Linked DNA regions of Homo sapiens: region 2 is linked to region 1. The links are contacts of gene promoters, found by promoter capture Hi-C in human tissues and cell types (Jung and others, 2019). All regions are on one chromosome and are shown on one strand. The core of a region is centred on a gene start or on the middle of the fragment in contact, and the rest is flanking DNA. Distances in the headings are between cores, read along the strand shown. Region 1 holds the start of PDYN (prodynorphin). Region 2 has its middle 52 kb from the start of PDYN.

Region 1 (6,508 bases), core at 2,081-4,580:
GTAAGGTGGGGGCAGGAATTGCATCTAATGGCAGAATGGTGGGGAGAATCAGGTGTTGATTTGTGTCAAGGGTTTACAATGGGGCCTGGTAGTAGACAGCCCTTCAGAAATGCTGGCTTTGTTTCTTAACTTTTCTGTCTTCCAGCCTGTGCTTCCTGAATCCTACCTAATGGAGTGATTTGAGGACTGGTTGTTTTAAATCTTTCCTTTTCTTTACTCTTTGCCTTTTGCCCACCTCGAGATCTGCAGTAGAAACTGGTCATGCACGGAGGGTGTGCAGGGAAGGGAGCATTCTAGAGCTTTGGAATGAGCCCTGACATCTGTATAAAAGCTAGCAGCATCCTCCTGTCTTCAGAATGACTCAGGTGCTCAGAGAGGCGAAGTATCCATCAGTTGTCACACAGTGAGGAAGCAGTGGCGTCGGGATCTAAGCTGAAGTGAGCCTGGCTGAGCCATGGTACCCACCCCCGGGACTGCTGCCCACAGGGCCAGCACCATGATTGGTGCATCACTGAGCCCAGGAGAGGGTGAGCTTTATGGCAAGGTTCTCCAGGACTAAGGGGGAAGGCTGCTCCTGGCCTTCTATGTGTGTGTGTGTGTGTGTGTGTGTGTGTGTGTGTGTAAAGGAGGCTGCGGAAGGAGAGGAAAGGCAAATGCAGGAACTATTTGCTCTTGAGGCAACAGTAGACTCAGGGGGTGAAGGATATCAGACATCAATGGCTTAATGAGGATTATCCATGAGTGTCTCTACTCTCACTGCCCCAACTTCCCTCTGGTGAATAACAGTCAGGAGAGGCCCCTGTCCTCTGCTCTTCCAGTGCTTGCTGACTTCCAGCCACGGGAGCCATTGTACTCCCTCTCTAAGAGTCTCTGTGTATTCGAAGGTTATTACCAAGAGCTTATAGAGGCAGAGGTTAGGAGGAGAAGGAGGAAATGAAAAATGAGGAAAGAGAGCAGTTGGAGTGAGGCTTTGGCCTTGGGGATGAAGTAGACGCTCACTCCTGGGCTCCCAGATTCCCAGGGTGGCAATGAATAGACTCCACTCATGTCCTCTGGCCACCATGCAAGAAGCCAGCCTGAGATGTGGCCAAGTGCTTGGTGACCCTGCGCACTGGCTATCACCAACTGGGCAGGGGCTTCCACATAGGGCACCAGGAGTCGCTTGCACCCGCCAGTCAGACCCCTTGTGCTGCCTCGGGAAGAGGAGACAGGGAGGAGAAGGAAAGTGAGGCTGTGGGTCCAGAGGGGAGTGTGGTGGGGCTGCAGCTTCAGGATCTGAGGGATGGGTCTCGGTTCTTCCTCCCTCCCTGGGTGGCTGGGGCCTCTCTGAACTTCTGCTGCCTTCTCCATCTGAGGACGCATTGTGAGATCCACACCACAGGTTTTCTTGTTGTGAGGATGTGATGGAATGTGGAAATGTCTGAGGCATAATAGGTGTTCAGCAAACAGCCCCTTCTACCCTCCTCCTTATGTGAGAGTTTAACGAGCCAGGTGCAGGGAGAGGAGGATGCCCAGGAGAACCTGCTGCATCAAAGCTGGAGGGATGTGGTTTATCAGGAATGATGGGAGCAGAACATCCGCTCCGTACTGGCTGCTTTAAGTGCTATTGACACATCCTCCTTTCACCCTCACAAGAGCCCAAGAGCCCCATGATACTGTTGTCCCCACTGTACAGATGAGCAATCAGAGGTTGAAGTTGGCAGCTTATCCAAGGTCTCTCCGATGGTGAGTGGCAGACCTGAGAGTCAAACTCACATCTTAAATGTCATTAAGCACAGCCTGTGTATGGAGAGGCTGAGTCCCAGAGAAGAAAACTGACCCCACCCCTCAGTGTGGGCAGATTCAAGCCTGGGGAGAGGCAAGGGAGGGGGCAGAAACTTGGAGGGTAGATGGACCTGACTTTAGGTTCTAGCTGGATGACTTACTTGCTGTGTGTCTCTAGGAACTTGGAGGGTAGATGGACCTGACTTTAGGTTCTAGCTGGATGACTTACTTGCTGTGTGTCTCTAGGAACTTGGAGGATAGATGGACCTGACTTTAGGTTCTAGCTGGATGACTTACTTGCTGTGTGTCTCTAGGAAAGTTTCTCAGCTCTCAAACCTCTGTTTTCTCATCTGCAAGATGGGGATAATATTAACCAACTGGCTAGGTCATGAGGATTAAATCTGACAACTCTACCTAACCGCCTGGTGCAGCCAGGTGCCCACAAAATGGGCGGCCCTGCCAGACTTCTGAAATAGTTGTGCCTCCCACCACAAACTGTCTGCTATTGACTGAGAAGAGAAGCATGTTCTCTTCCAAACTCAAAGACCCTTATGTTCTGGAAGATCTCTGTAGCAATGAAGAGTGCCACCTTCAAGCTGCTGCTGGTCCAGGCCAAGGGTATATTGAGGTGGGTCCATCCCTCACCCAGAGTGTGTGCTGAGGCATATTGCAGCCCATATTTTGAGGGGTTTTTCCTGCTATTCATTTTGTGTTGCCGCCAGAGAAAACTAAACTGCAGCTCCTGGCTGTCGGGGAAGAGCTGTGCTTCTGCCAGGGCTAGTGTGCCTGGCACCAGCTCAGGCATGTACCAGAGCCGAATGCCGTTTGCAGGCAAATGTACACACAAAAAGATTCCAGCACACGCGTGCACCAGCCAACACAGAGTTGCCACGGCACGCAACAGCGGGCCATGCACGTGCCTGCTGACTCGGCTGTCATCTTCCGACTCTCTTCCGTGATCAGAAGACTGTCTCAGCCTCTGTCTGTCTCCACGTCTGTCTGTCTGTGGATCAGTGTGTTTTGAGTCTGACAGTCTACCTGGCTGGTTTCCTTTTTTCTTGCTCTGTCCCTCTCTCCTTGTGTTTCTACCCATCTCCCTATCTCTGCCACTCTCTGTCTCTGTTTTTCTTTCTCTTTCTCCCCTCCTTTGTATCACTCCCTAGGTCCGACATTGCCTCTTTCTCGATTTCCGATTCTCTCTGAGTCTCTCTCTCTCTCTCTCTTTCTCTAACTCTTCTGTCTCTGTCCTTCCCTGTCTTCTTTTTCCTGTGACACTCTCCTGGAAACGCATCAAAAACTGAAGTGGCCGGATTTCAAGTGACAAACAGCACTACACCCAGAATCCGCCCCCTCCCCAACACGGCTGCCTTCCTCCTCCACATCCCTGTCACGAAGAGAAGCCTATTGTGTCAGGCCCAGGGAGTTCGAGTTGAAGGGCCTGGGGGTCTGTGCTCTGACTGCTCTCAGCCACTTCCCCATTGGCTCCCAGCAGCCTGTGCTCAGCAAGGGCTGAGCGACAGGGGAGGCTCTCGTCCATAAAAGGGGGGAAGAGGCACCAGAACTGCCATTTGAAGGGGCTTTGGTGGTGTTCACAGCTGCCTCTTTGGCACCTCCTCCCAAGCCGGAGTCAAGGAGGCCCCTGAGCCTTGGACCAGCCACTGCCACCTCCGACCTGCTCGGCCAGAAGCTGCCCAGGGACAAAGCAGAGTGCAGGTAACATCCAGAGGGGGCACTGGAATTCTATCGCTTGGTTTTATTTGCTTATTCCTGGTCCTCTGGACCTAGAGATGGTGGGAGCTCGGGCTGGGGATTTTAGGTTTGGGTCTGATTATCTAGCAAAGGTGGTTACAGTTAGGAGGCTAGTTCACAAAAGCCAGACCAGTGAGAGACTGCTCTTTGGACTCTCCCTTTCTGCACAGTCCTGGCTTAAACAGGTGGTAAGCTCTCTCCCAAGAGGACCACCCTTTGGCTTTAGCTCCAGGGTCTCCTTCTTGCAGTCTCCCACACAGCAGTTCCCATGCCATTCCCAGGGTCTGGGGAAAATGGGACACCCTGGATGGGAGAAGTGAGAGGTTTCACTAATCAGGGTGATTTTAAAGGTCAATGAGTCTCACTGGACTTAGAGAACAATGGCTTGAGGACATTAATGAGATCCAAGGCTCTGGCATTTATCACATAACATGTACATCAATGTACGGCCAGGTTCGGCCTTTTCATTCTTTTCGGATTGTGTTTAATTGCTGACAGGGTGCTGGTTTGAGCGGCTTCTTTTGATGGAATTTGATACAGGTTGAAGTTTGGGGATGTTTTGTTGGAAGGGAATGGGAAAAGGGAGTGACAACAAGCCAGGAGGCCCAGGCTTAGCAGGCATTTTCTTGTCCATTTTACTTGGAAAGGACTTGTTGCTCTCCTATTAACTACAGCCAGAGGAGTCTAAGGCCAGGAGGAGGCTCAAAGGGAAAGCCATTTGCTCACTGGTCCAGAGACCCATATTCAGAAAAGTACCAAGTCTCAAAGTTTGATTCTAGCAAAAAGCTGATGAGTTTCAGGAAAAAAAAAAAAAAAAAAAAAGCCTGCTGACTACTCCAAGGTTGAAGAGTAAATTCTGCAACTGCTTACTTTTTCCTGGGTATCAAGAATCCCTCCAAGCTCTACAAACATTACTTAATTAAGTCTCCAGTCTTCCCAGGGGAAACAAGCTCTTTCGATTATTGGATCTGATTTCAATTCCCCTCCCACAGACTGAAAGTCTTCATTATCATCTTTCTTCCAAGGGTTGCTGAAATATACAAGGCTTGCCTTTCTAATTTGACAGGCATCCCAGTCGAGATCCATTGCAAAGCATTGCAGAATGTCGATCCTCTTCTGTTCTTTCTCACCCCAGGCCTCACTCCCACCCCTCTGTGGCACCTTCCTTCTCTTTTCCCCTCCTCTTCTCCCCCCAGTCCCACCACACCTTGCCTTTGTTCTATTTTTGCAGGTCATTTATCTTCAGGCTTTGAGATCTGCGTGGGGGGAGCTGTTGCAGCAGCCCAAGCCGGTGAGTTATGCTGCCTGGGGGTGGTTTGCGTTCACTGACGGGATCTCAAGCCCACTGCTTTGCCCCAGCTGAGCTAGAGGTGTGATAGGTGGCAGGCAAACCCTATGCCTCTGTTGGCAGCTGGGAGGGGGATGTCACACTGGTTCCCAAGGCTATGTGGCGGAAGGCAGCACATTTTAAGGGAGCAGGCAAAGGGATCAGCTCTGGGGCTATTTGAGAGATTTGCGATCTTAAAACACGTGGAAGGAGTTAAGGTTTCTTGAAGTAACTCCTGGGAGGCAGGAATTTTCCATCTGTCATCTACACGTGTGTCTCACAACACCTGAAACAGTGCTGGGCTGAAATCCCAGATCCTACCACTCACTTACTGTGTGACTTTGGAACAGTAGAAGTCCCTCTCTGAGTCATACTTTCTTTACCTGTATGATGAGAATAATAATAATATTCACCTCCTAAGGTTATTGCAAGTCTCCAATGGGATATAGCAAAATGCCTGGCATTCAGTAGGTGCTCAATAAATACTGGCATGACTGCTCAGATTTTCACTGTTCCGAAGTGGTGAGGTTGGACCTTTCTCTCCATCGATTATCATATCGCTGATCATCCCACTCCATCATGCTGTGTGCTATGTCCAGGAGATATGATCTAATGTCTAATATTTTCATTTGAGGGGCTGGTGCTCCTTTCCCCTCCCCATCCCAGCAGAAGACTTTTTATTTCATCTGCTGCATCAGGATCATGAAGTCTCTTTTTGATCGATACTCCCTAAATCCACCTCCCACTACCCACCTCCTTGGGTCATTCCTGCACAATTGTCGTATTTATTAGATCTCTTCCATCATTGTAAGAGAGATCAATAGTTACTGGTTCGATTTCAATGCATGCCTGACAAAGTGTGGTTACACAGCTGATTTCTCTCACTGTATTCACTCATCTCAGCCCATGAATGTTGGCTAATCTTGCTGGGTCTGACAAAGTGATAAACCTGTTTCACTGAGACAGAGCTGGCCACTGTGGTAGGCAGTGAACATCGGCTGGAGACACCCAGGTAAGCCCCAGGATCAGACCCTCGAAATGGAGTGGGGTCTGTTAGTGCTGTGAAGCGCAGCCTCATCAGTCCCTCCCAGCCTGGATCCAGACTGATGCTCCTGGCAGGAGGACGATGGCCTAGGTCCATGAGGCACATGGCTTGGCTCAGGGGGCTCCTCCGAGTCCATCCAGGTCATCCCACTGGCCAGAGCGGCTGGCCACAAGCCGCAGACATATGCACCGAGGCAATTTGTTGATGCATTGGCTTGAACTGCCATTTGGTCCCTGTCCTATTCCTGGACGATTTGATTTAACTTGACAGCGGTTTACTGAGCAGTTATTATGTGGCAGGGTCTCTTGCCCACTGGTCCCTAGGAACAAAGGGCAGACTCAGAGAGCAGCAGGAGGGAGAGAATTGGTGTTTGTGATTCACACGGTATGTCAGCATCCTGAATCAAAATCTACTCTCCCTCCCCACTTCTCTCTCTCTTATTGTGTTCACTTCCCTTCCCTTTTTTCCCTCTTCTTCCCCTCCTCCTCACCCCCTTCCCTTCTATTCCCATTTGTCCTCTCCCCATCTCTATGTCTCATCTTATTTTTTCTTCCCATATGGTCCTCCACCTCTCTCTGCTTTTTCTCGGTGTCTCGGTCTCTTTTTCTGTGTGTGCAGTTCTC
Region 2 (6,508 bases), core at 2,260-4,759, 52 kb before region 1:
TACCTTGGCAGTGGCACTCTGCTGCAAATTTGTCCAAGAGGTGCGGGAGAAAGCTGATGGCCACTGCATGCTCTAGGGCACTGGAGAAGCCATACCCTGCTGAGGCCAAGTGCTGGAGAAGCCATGTGAGCCACTGGTGCTGGGCCCTGCAAGAGCCTCATACACCACAGGAGGCAAGTGCTGGATAAGCTGTGTATGCTATGGGGGAGCAGCACTGGGGAAGCCACCTGAACTGGAGCAGCTGCACTAGTGAACCCACACGCAGTGCTGGAAAAGCATGCAGTGCTTCAGAAACCTGCCTGGAGGAGCACGTAGGAGCCAGGAAGAGGATCTCTTCCCCCTCCAGTGTCCCACAGCATTCTTTACTGACAAAGCTTGAGAAGGAGATATATTTACAGAGCCCAGCTCCATTATTATAGAGAGAGAATGAAGGGTAAGTTTAGAGCTTGGAGGCAATATGTTGATAACTGATTGAGTCTACCTTTTGGTTACTCTTTTCTTTCTATGTGACAATTTACCATAAACTTGGAGGCTGCAAGCAAAACACATTACTACAAAGCTACCAGTAATCAGAACAGTGGGGTATTGGCATAAGGATAGACATATATATTGATGGAATAGAATTGAGACTCCAGAAATAAGCCCATACATCTATAGTGAATCAATTTTTTGACATGATGCCAAAACCACTCAATGAGAAAAGAATAACAGTCTTTTCAACAAATGGTGCTGGAACAACTAGCTATCCACAGGCAAAAAAATTACTTTGGATTCTCACTTCACACTATATACAAAAATTAACTCAAAATGTATGAAAGACCTAAATATGAGAGCTCAAACTATACAACTGTTAGAAGGAAACACAGGCATACCTCTTTGTGATCTTGAATTAGACAATGGTTTCTCAAATGTGATATCAAGAGCACAGGATGCAAAATTAAAAAGGGATACGTTGAACTTTATCAAAATTAAAAACTGTTGTGCGGCCAAGGATACTATTAAGAAAGTGAAATGACAACCAACAGAATGAGGGAACATATTTACAAATCATGTAATTGATAAAAGCCTGGTATCAGAATATAGAAATAACTCTTGGCCAGGCGCAGTGGCTCACACCTGTAGTCCCAGCAGTTTGGGAGGCCGAGGTGGGTGGATCACCTGAGGTCAGGAGTTCAAGACCAGCCTGACCAACATAGTAAAACCCTATCTTTACTAAAAATACAAAATTAGCCAGGCATGGTGGCATGTGCCTGTAATCCCAGCTACTTGGGAAGCTGAGGCAGGAGAATTGCTTGAATCTAGGAGGCGAAGGTTGCAGGGAGCCGAGATCATGACATTGCACTCCAGCCTGGATAACAAGAGTGAAACTCTGTCTCAAAAACAAAAACAAAAACAAACAAACAACAACAACAAACAAACAAAAAACTTTTACCACTCAACAATAAAGAAACAATTTAAAAATGGGCAAAGTCGGTTGCTAAACATCATTAGACATTAGGGAGATTTTCAAATTTCAAAATTATAATGAGATATCACTTTACATTCACTAGGGTGGTTGTAATAAAAAAGACGGATGACAAGTGTTGAGCATGTGGAGAAATTGGAACCCTCACATATTGTTGGTGGAAATGTAAAATGATGCAGCCAGTTTGGAAAACTATCTGGCAATTCCTCAAAATGTTAAACAGAGAGTTGCCATGTGATCTAGCAATTATACTCCTGGGTATATACCCAAGAGAATTAAAAACATGTATCCACACAAAAATTTGTAGATGACTGGTCAAATGATTGAATGTTCCATCAAAAAGTGGAAGCAACCTAAATGTTCATCAACTGATGAATGAATAAACAAAATGTGGCATGCTCATAAAGGCCTATTATTCAGCCATTAAAATGAGTGAAATGCTAACATGTGCTGCAACATGGATAAACCTTGAAAACCTCATGTTAAGTGGAGGAAACCAGCCACAACAGCCCACATATTGTATGATTCTATTTATATAAAATGTCCAGCATAGTCAAATCTATAGCGACAAAAAGTAAATTAGTGGTTACCAAGAGAAGAGTGCAGGGAAAAATTAAAAGGTATGGTGTTATTTGGTGGGAAATGATGGAAATATTCTGGGATTAAATAGTAGTGACAGTTGCACATCATTGTGAATATACTAAAAACCACTGAATTGTACACTTAAAAACAAACAAAAAAATCCAAGCCAAACCAAAACAAAAAACCAAACGTACACGTATGACCCTAGTTTTCATGGGTTGGGAGTCTGGGCTTGGCTTAGCTGGGTTTCTTGCTCAGGCTCTCATCAGGTTGCAGTCCAGGTGTCTTCTAGGTTGTGGTCCTTTCTGGAGCTTGGAATCCCTTTCCAAGCTCATGTAGTTGGGAGCATAATTCAGTTCCCTGTGATTGTAGATCTGAGGTCCCCATTTTCTTGCTGGTTGTCAACTGCGGGTCACTCTCAGGTCCTAGAGGTCACTCATAGTACCTTGCCACGTGGCCCTGTCACAGGTCTTCTCATAGCCCTCCGCCCACGACATGGCAGCTTCTTAAAAGCCAGCACAGGACCCTCTGGCTTAAATCTGCGAAAATGGAGACTTATATCGCATAATATAATCATGGGAGTTACTATCTTATCACCTTTGCTGTATTCTATTGGCTAGAAGTAAGTCACAGGTTTCCCTACATTTAAGGGGGAAGTGATGATATACAAAGCCCTTACTTATTGGGGATCACCTTAGCATGTGTCACCACAGCTACTCGGCTTACATGTGCACCCTCTACACACATTTAGAGTCCCATATAATAAAACAATTCCTCTTCCCATCTAACAAGATATAACTATCCTCCTTACATTAGTAAGCAGTTCTCACCTTCTCCCCAAAATGAGGCACTGCACCATCCTGACAGTCATTATATCCATTGCTGGATATATTAATTGTCTTTCAATCTGTTATAGTACCACCGAATATTCTGTTATCTAAAGGCTAAATTATAAAATTAAGCTTCAAAAACTTGTATAATATAAAACAAAAATAAGAAGAAAAAGAATAAAGTAGTTAGCACATTCTTCTAACAAGCAAAGAGAGCATTTGCAGAGCTGCTACAGGCCTTGATTCTGTAATAGGTCATGAGGTCATAGCTGATATCCATGGCTTCCTTCTTCCGTTACCCACCCCTCAGACAAGGTCTTGCTCTGTTTCCCAGGCTGGAGTGCACAGTGGTGCAGTCACAGCTACCGCAGCCTTGACCTCCCAGACTCAAGCGATCTTCCACCTCAGCAACCCGAGTAGCTAGGACTACAAGCACATGCCACTCTACCTGGCTAATTTTTAATTTTTTTGTAGAGATTGGGCCTCACTATGTTGCCCAGACTGGTCTCAAACTCCTGAGCTCAAGCGATCCACCCATCTCAGCCTCCTAAAATGCTGGGATTACAGGTGTGAATCACCACGCCTAGCCTCTACTACCCAATTTGTGTTTCCTTTGCTCTCCAACAGAGCCTCAGTTAGTTGGGGTTCCTTATTTGATGGGGCAATCCAAACCTTCCTTCTCAAATGGCCTGAGTCCTCAATTATTCTGCCTTTTTTCGGGTTGCTATAGTTTTATCTTAATGTTTATTATTGGGCATGGACACACTAAGAGGCGATCCATAGAATCCACTGCATTCCAGGCATAGATCTTCTTGTCCCCACTTTGTGGCAGCCGCAATCCAGTTTTCTCTTGTTAATCAGGATCAATCATTCCAACCCACAGAATAACGCCCTTTTCTGCTTATTGATTCAGTGGCATAAAGAGTCCCAAAATGGCCAAGTGACAGCCTCACCTTCCAATTCAATGGAATCATTTTTGCATTCTCTGATTGAAGTATTTCCACCTGGGAAATAATCAAAGCTAGTATTTCTCATTGCCTTAGTCAAGTGAGTGTCTGCTGGGCTTTCTTATGAAGACAGTTGGCAGGTGAGTGGGCAGATTGCATGTGATACATCCAGGCAAAACTTCTGGTCTCCCTAAGCCTTTGAATTTCCTCCTCTGTGTAATTTTAGGGAAGTTCTGGCATCTCAATATCATTCAGTGTAAGTCACCATTGAGCCCAAGTTTTAGTCAACAACCAAGAAAGCAGTTAGAGACGCTTCCAGTAACATGAGGTCCATACAAGTTAGAGCTATCCTCCTTAAAAGTATGACATTCTCACGCTCTCCCCCAAATCCAGTCACTAGTAAGTTCACTTACATCAGTGAATTTGCTCACTATAGTGTTATAATCTACCCTACTTGGTCTAACACCTTTCAATTCCATACTCACACATGTTACCCAGGTTAATGCTGATATACATTAGCAAATTTTTGCAATTCTTTTGGTGTTTAAGCTATTTTCTCCAAGGTCATAATGTGTACCTGTCTCCCTGGAGCATACTGTTATTTGACCCTAGTTATAGGTCTAGTGGCAACAAAAGGTGGTCGTGGTGGGTTTGGAAAAGAATGACCATACCTTTTCAAGGTATTTGCCTCAGATGAGGTTGTCACAGGGCTATCAAGCAAAGAAATGCTAGTGTCCTAATACACCAGAGGGCAAGCTACTTCCACTGGTAAGAGAAGCTCACAGTGATTTTGGGATTCAAGATTATCAACTTCATCTAGGTCCAACCAGATGTCCCTGTTTCCAGTTTTATGATTCCATTTTTTTCCAATCAACTTTCATTTGAGCAACTTAGTAAGCTTGTGAATCTGACTGACACTATAATTCGGCAATCTACACAATTAAATTTTTGTTATCTTTTTCAGCAACATCAGCCTTGTATCTATAAGAAATAAAATATTCATTTAACCTCTCTGGTTTTCAGGTCATGATTTGAGCTGAGTTTGGCATTTTCTCCCTATAAGCATTCAAGTCCACTCAAAAGAATATATTCCACACTGCAGTCATTACAGTCATCATTACTGCTGTAACAATCAAGTGGAGCATCCTCCTGGGCTCCCTGGACACTTGCTTCGGTTGGTTGTAGCTTGTTTAATTGGCACTGCATGCAATGAATTGCTAGCATCCCATTTCCCATTGGTAAGAAGCTCATTACTGTGCTCAAGCCCAAGGGCATGACCAAACCAATGCCCAAGTCCCATCTTTACAGATCTATTTCCTGAGACGACTCCTATGTCAGCCAGAGTCTAGTCAGGGGATAAAAACTGTACAGTAATTTGAACAGAGAAAGTTTAATATGAACACGGTTAACTATAGGAGAGAATTGGCATAATAAGGGATTGGCTGGTAAGAAGTGAAGAACTGTAAAGAATGCAGGAATAGCAGGTATGAGGAGTACCCACTACTCTTAGGACTGAGATGGAGTGCTCGAGGACGATCCCCGAGCTCCACACTGTGATCCAGACCTTGTTGGAGAAGGCATGGCTGTGGCTCACTGACTAGTGGAGCAGTGTCCAAGCTACTGCCCCAGCGGGACTTGCTGAAATCTTCCCTCCTGCATCCCAATGAGGACCATCCATGCAGAGATGCTGTGCCTTGAAACTTGCTGGAAATCTGCCCAAAGGGGAGCCACCAGAGGCAGTTCACAGGGAGGTACCTCATCTGTGGCATTCCACTCTGAAGTCACCTAAGGAGTTTCTGGGGAAACCTGTTTGCATTTGGGTACTGCTGGCTGCTGCACCCTGTAGGGACTGGTGCCTGCCTTTTAGGAGTTGGAAGTTGAAGCCAAGACTGGACCCAGGTGCTGCAGAAGCCACATGCACTGCAGAAGCCAGACACTGGAGAAGCCACATGTGCTACTGGAGCTAGAACCTGCAAAAGCAGCCTGCACTTCCAGAACCAGGTGATGCATAAACCATAAAAGCCTGTGGAGAGAAGTGCACTGGGAAAAGGAAGAGAAACACCTTTCTCCTTCAGTGTCTCTTCTGTGTCCCCTCATGTCAAAGCTTAACATTGTGCTGCCTGGCAAAGGAAGAATCTTCACAAGGCCCAACTCTATTATTGCAGACCAGGCAATAAAGGGAGACTTTGGAGCTGAGAAGCAGTACGTTTGTAATTGGCACATGGAACAAACATTGTAAATTATCTAACACTGCATGTCCAGTATAACCACATGTGGCTACTCCAATTTACATTAATTAAAATTAAGTAAGTATGTAAAATTCCAGTCCTCAGTCATGCCAGCCACATTTCAAGTGCTCAATAGCCACATGTGGGTAGTGGTTGCTAGAGTAGAACATTGCAGCTGCAGGACATTTCCTCCATTGAAGAAATTTCTGTTGAACAGCCCTAACATCTCTTTGGTCATCTCTTTGCTTTGGCTGCTAGAAAGCTTGGACATAAATTTCATCTTCAGGTTAAGGATAAGGTACATCTCTAGCAAATGATAAGTCTATATTCTAACCCTTGGCCTCCTCTTACTTTCTCTTCATCTCAATTTCCTAATCTATTTATTTTATCCTGCTCTATTCCTTTCAGTAAACTTTTAAAATTTACATATGTTGCAGGATTAGGATGGCTAAAATA

The links. Contacts are between HindIII fragments. The study calls those that stand out against the background at their distance.
Region 2: a contact is called between a fragment that was not itself captured here and the fragment with the promoter of PDYN in region 1, in 1 of the 25 tissues and cell types used here (hippocampus).

What each region holds. Positions count from the first base shown.
Region 1 is chr20:1,990,880-1,997,387 of GRCh38, reverse strand. PDYN (prodynorphin) reads left to right here and starts at 3,330. Exons shown (of 4, transcript NM_024411.5): 1 at 3,330-3,477; 2 at 4,745-4,804. The region is part of intron 3 of PDYN-AS1 (PDYN antisense RNA 1); the gene reads right to left. RefSeq lists an enhancer at 2,960-3,790. The HindIII fragment of the contact is 29,966 bases long and covers 1-6,508 here.
Region 2 is chr20:2,042,786-2,049,293 of GRCh38, reverse strand. No RefSeq gene overlaps it. Among named protein-coding and RNA genes, the nearest start is that of PDYN, 52 kb to the right of the region's middle. The HindIII fragment of the contact is 3,633 bases long and covers 1,693-5,325 here.